Linked DNA regions of Homo sapiens: region 2 is linked to region 1. The links are contacts of gene promoters, found by promoter capture Hi-C in human tissues and cell types (Jung and others, 2019). All regions are on one chromosome and are shown on one strand. The core of a region is centred on a gene start or on the middle of the fragment in contact, and the rest is flanking DNA. Distances in the headings are between cores, read along the strand shown.

Region 1 (2,754 bases), core at 122-2,621:
ATCTCTTCAGGGGAGATCTATCCCTCTTTTCTTCATTGCATTATCTCTAAACCTTACAGGAGGAAAAGGTGCCTACCTGACATCTGTGACATCTCTTCTCATGCTCTTGGGAAAAAAGCTTTTGGAATTTGGACACAGCTATTAAGTTACTCCTCAGTGGCCAGCCGCGATGGCTCACGCCTGTAATCTCAGCCCTTTGGGAGGCCGAGGCGGGCGGATCACGAGGTCAGGAGATCGAGGCCATCCTGGCTAACACGGTGAAACCCCGTCTCTACTAAAAATACAAAAAATTAGCCGGGCGTGGTGGCGGGAGCCTGTAGTGCCAGCTACTCGGGAGGCTGAGGCAGGAGAATGGCGTAAACCCAGCAGACAGAGCTTGCAGTGAGCTGGGATGGCGCCACTGCACTCCAGCCTGGGCGACGGAGCGAGACTCCGTCTCAAAAAAAAAAAAAAAAAAAAAGTTACTCCTTAATTTGTTGAATCTTTGTGCCAAAAGGAGCTGAACCAGTGTAGGTGGAGACAAAGGAAGCAGCATAAATGTCTAACTTATAACTCCCCAGGAAAACGAGAAGAGGAAAAATGAGACACTCCGGTCCCGCTCTGTTCCTCATCCCCCGTTTACAAACCTTACACCTGGCCCACACTCAGTAACAACAAAGACATCTATCACTTTCAGGCCGAGGTCCTGTCTCCAAAATTACTGGCCTCTGCTCACAGTTCTTAAAAGTTTGCTGAGAAAAAAAAAAAGAAAGAAAGAAAGAAAGAAATGTTCCTGGGCTGCAGTCGTGTAGCCCCAGGATGGGTTTACAGGAGGATGCCCCGGTTAAGCCCTGTGCCGCCCCCACCTCCCGCTGGAGACTCACACACAGCTCCCCGCCAGTCCCACCGGTGACAGCCACACAAAGGCAGGGTCACAAGCACACCGACCACCCCACAGCCCAGATTCGGCCCCAGACACACACTCACAAGGGCACGTGATCACGTGCGTGGTCACATGGACCGGCCCACTCAGAACACACTCACAAAGTCACACCAACCAAGGCAGCCACGCGCCACACACACACACCTACAACCCCGCATACCGCACACCCAGCCGCTTCCCAGGGCTTCGCCCACCCTCACCTGCCGTGGCCGCCCCCACGTCCCTTCCCCTCCTTCAGGAGGCCGCTCTTCGCTCCAGTACGAGCGCGGGCCGTGGAGGCGGCTGGGCCCGGGTCGGGGCGGGCGGCGGAGCACTCGGGACCCACGGGCACAGCAGGCTGCGCGGTGCGTGCGGGAGGCCGGCCTCTGAGGGGGCGGGGCGCGTGGCCGAGCGAGCTTGGGCCGCCGCGCTCCCCCCGCCCGACCGCCGCTCAGCTGGCGCGAGACTCCCGCTTCCGGGTTCTCAGAGGGCGGGGCCACGTCGCGAGGAAGGGGCGGTGCTGCGTGGCCCCGGCGGTCGCCACGGCGACGGGCGCGGGGGGAGGCTCCGTGGGATGCTTGGCTGCGGCTGGCGTGAGGAGAGGGCTGAGTTACGTCTGGGTCAGCCTTAGTTCTGCCCTACGTACCTAGGAGGAGGAGGAGGTGGAGGAGGCGCCTGGCCCCTTGGGACCTGCTTCTTCTTTCAGTTCGCGTTTTCTCTGTCGTGTACAGCTTTGGAGGGACACCTTTGGGTTCCAGACTTTGATGAACACAACTTTGTATACTCTTTTCTTAGGAACATTTTTTTTCCTTTGGCACAACCGTAGACGCTCTCCGTAGTCCTCCACTCAAAGCCTCCGCTTCCTTTTTGACGTTCTGGGGATTTCTGGGAACATACGCCCACCCATCTTCCTGTTCCTTCATCACTTTTCCCTTAAAATCAGAGAGAATATTAATACATTTGTAATCATTGTTCTTAAGGTGTTGCAGACGTCACGTCTTAAGGTGTTCCAGACTTCACGACTCCTTTTTTATTAGTAAAATATTTCTGAAATTATGATAAGGTGAATAACATGTAAATCTCCTTGTTTTGAATTTTTTTTTTAGGGATCCTGCAACAAGGTCCTGTTGAAAGTGCCTCTCTCTAATATGTTTTAGGGAAAGCTTGTACCCTGTTTTAGGGCCTGTAGACTTTGCCTTTACCTAGGCAACTGTTTATGGGATTAAGGTCAGGGAAGATTCCAACTAAATTGCATCCTACTTAGTTATCACTTCTGTCCCCTGGCCCAGGAGCCTTGGGTTCCACTCTAGAACTTGGACAAATCCCAAAAGCATTTTCCAAAAGCACGGTGACATACTTACCTTTTTCTTTCTTTCTTTTTTTCTCTAAATCATTTCTTTCGGGGTTGCAACTCAGTCGCAGGAATTCATCTTTTATTGTAAGCACCACATAGATGTATAGAGCACGTTTCCGTGGAGTATTTTAAGTTGGGGGCCTTTTCTCCAACATTTGGAATCGTTTAATGGGTGGAATAACTTGCAAACTACTGGTTGTCTCTGAAACTGGTTATGGATATTCATTACATTAGTTGTCTATTTTCCCAGGTGGTCTCGAAGCTTCAATCTAGAGCAAAGGGAATAGAGTGATTCCACCAGTCCATTAGCACATGATTAGCCCATAAATAATAGGTACTAAATGTATATTGATTGTAATCCCAGCACTTTGGGAGGCCAAGGTGGACGGATCGCTTGATTGAGCCCAGGAGTTCGAGACTAGCCTGGGCAACCTGGGAGACCCTGTCTGTACAAAAAAATACAAAAATTAGCCGGGCGTGGTGGCGCATGCCTGTAATC
Region 2 (2,754 bases), core at 150-2,649, 800 kb after region 1:
TAGCGTAACCGGGGCTACGCTGTTTACAGGTGTCTCCACCTCCTCCCCCAAGGAGAGAAGAGGTATACTAGGGTAAACAGAAAATAGAAGGAGACTATATACACACCAAATAACAGCTTGTAATCTTCTAAGACTTCTTTTACATTCGGGCTATTCTTTTCATTAACGTATAATACATTTTAAAGAATAACATATTCACAGAGTAATACAATTTCTGCCCTCACGGGTCTCTAGCTGGCTGACACGCGTTTTCTCCTCAAATAAATACATGCCTGTTGACTGATGCCTGTCCTGCTGTTGCAAACAAGAAATAACTGTCCTATAAGACAAAAACCTCTCTCTACGGTTCTAGGCGTAACCATACGTTTGAATTAAAAGCACATTGGAACAACAACAACAATCTTCCAGCACATCTGTCATTTAAAAGCACGATAATGAAAAGCTGTCGCTGCGACCCAATTTTAGGTCACAAGCTTTTTACTGTTTTTCCTGCCCCCCACCTCCAGAAAACAATAAACTTCAAAGGGAATGGTGGTAACCAGGAACAGTTCCCTTCCCCCACCACACACCCCCCCAAAAAGACTAGAAAAAAAACTGGTCAACTTGGACGCTGGCCGCGCTCACGCAGAACCCGTGCCCGCGGGCCGGGGAAGGCTGAACAGACCCTGGGAGGAAAAGTGGGCCTGCAGGCACCCCGGGCTCCCCCCGCCGCCTGTCTCAGATACCGAGCAGGTGGGATTCCGGGAAGCCACCTCCGACTTACGTAACGGGCTTGTCAAAATCCCAGATCCAGGACCTCCCCCTCCCCGCCCCCACTCCCAAATAACAACAGCCCCAGGCCAGCCTGGAATAGAAAATCTGGAATGAAAACACAGGAGCCCCCCACGCGTCCGACGCAGAGGCGCGGGTGCTACTCTCAGCACCGCCGCGCCATCCCGGGGCGGACCGAGCCGCGGAGCACCTCCCGGATCTCAGGAGCTCTCGGGCGGAGATCTCGGCCATCCGTGCCTCCTCCCCGAACCCACCCGCCCCGCTCCCGCGCCCCCGGCTGTCACCTCTCCGGGCCGTGACAGCTCCACCTGCCACCGCTGCCCGGGTCGCCGCCCCCGCACTCACCACCCAGCTGGCTCCCGTGCGAGCAGCGGATCGAGCTCGGAGAGCGGCGCCGGAATCCCGCACGCGCGGTAGCGGAACACGAGGGGCTGAATGCCGCGGCGCTCTGAGCCCGCTTAGCTCATCCCCAGCCCGGCGCTCCGCCCTTCGCGGCACCCCCGCCCGCCCGCCCAGGCCTGCCGTCTCAGTCAGACGGGACTCCCCCTCCCCTCGCGGCCGCCACTGCCTCCGCCTCTTTCTCCGACTCTAGCCTCCGCGGCCACCGCGACCGGCGCCATCTTGGCAATGACGGAAGGGGCGGGGGCGGGAATCACGCCCGCGAGCACCAATCGAAGGCCGGATCTGGCCCGAGTGGGAGGAGAGGGCCGAGTTGAGGGTCGTGGGGTCCTAGCGCCAAACTGATAATGGGGCGGTGAAGGTGGGCGGGACTAAGTCGCCTTAGTCCGTGACGTGCGGTGTAGTTGGGGAAACGCACCGTGGTTCCCCGTCGGGTCAGGAGATCCCGAGCCCCAGGCTGGCGTGGGCGAAGCGTACAATCCCTTCACCTTTCGTCACCCAGAGGCACAAGAATCCAGTTCGCGCCAACTGACCTGTTTCTTCCTTCCTCCCCGGCACTCTGGGAGTCCTGAGATTGCCTTGCTCGGTTCGTCTCAGACTTGCTAGATCTGAGCAGCTGCTGCTCCTCCACCAAGGGTGCTCACATTCTCCAGGAAACTCCCTTAAGGGTTAGCAACCGCCGAGTAGGTTTCGGTCCCAAGATAGAAAGGTAAAGCGGGGAATTCAGGGGGTTTCTCCGAAAAGTACGTTGATGAAACAGCTATTGTTGACTGACGGGGTGTCGATTACTTTGGATTAATTGGATACGGCCTACTTAAACCTGACTGTGGCTCTCCACCATTGATGGCTGTTGACAGATGAGGTTAATAAAGCTTGATTACCCCCATGGGGTTGCTCGGGAGTTAAATTCTATAGTACCTGTGAAGTACTTAGTATAGTGCTTGAAAGTACTCAATAAATGTTAGACATTATTCCATGGACAAATGAAAGAAGAAACAGGACCCCCAAAATCCCTCTGCTTTAAAGTCAACTTTTCCTAAATTGCATAGCCTTTTACTAACCAAGTTTACAACTTTATTTCCTACCTCCAGTTCTTTCATTGTATTCATTCATTCAGTCAACAAACATCCATACAGAGGGTGCACAGTGGTGAGGGAAACAGAAAACCTTTGCCTTCAGGAAACTGCAGTTTAGTGGGAGAAGAGGGACAATAAAAAAGTACTTAAGCACATTTTAAGGGGAAACATGCTATAAAGGTTAGAAAAATAACTGAGGCCAGGCGCCTTTGCTCATGCCTGTAATCCCAACGCTTAGGGAGGCCGAGGCAAGAGGGTCAGCTTGAGCTCAGAAGTTCAAGACTAGCCTGGCAAAATGGCGAGAACCCTGTCTCCACCAAAAATACAAAAAATTAGCCGGGCGTGGTGGCGTGCGCCTGTGGTCCCAGCTACTTGAGAGGCTGAGGTGGGAGGATCGCTTGAGCCCCAGAGCCGGAGGCTGCAGTGAGCCGAGATTGTGCCACTGCACTCCAGCCTGGGTGACAGAGCAAGATTTTGCTTTAAAACAAAACAAAACAATCGAGTTGCA

The links. Contacts are between HindIII fragments. The study calls those that stand out against the background at their distance.
Region 2: the fragment with the promoter of DENND4A here is called in contact with the fragment with the promoter of SPG21 in region 1 in 1 of the 25 tissues and cell types used here (hippocampus).

The regions. Positions count from the first base shown.
Region 1 is chr15:64,988,543-64,991,296 of GRCh38, forward strand. It overlaps SPG21 (SPG21 abhydrolase domain containing, maspardin), which reads right to left and starts at 1,372. Exons shown (of 9, transcript NM_016630.7): 1 at 1,123-1,372. RefSeq lists enhancers at 579-1,080, 1,081-1,580, 1,636-1,705, 1,746-1,805 and silencers at 809-1,103, 906-955, 1,076-1,565. The HindIII fragment of the contact is 3,841 bases long and covers 1-2,290 here.
Region 2 is chr15:65,790,894-65,793,647 of GRCh38, forward strand. DENND4A (DENN domain containing 4A) reads right to left here and starts at 1,400. Exons shown (of 33, transcript NM_001320835.1): 1 at 1,117-1,400. It overlaps LOC105370866 (a long non-coding RNA gene), which reads left to right and starts at 1,580. Exons shown (of 3, transcript XR_932372.2): 1 at 1,580-1,879. RefSeq lists a silencer at 957-1,286 and enhancers at 1,288-2,253, 1,477-2,096. The HindIII fragment of the contact is 3,785 bases long and covers 1-2,573 here.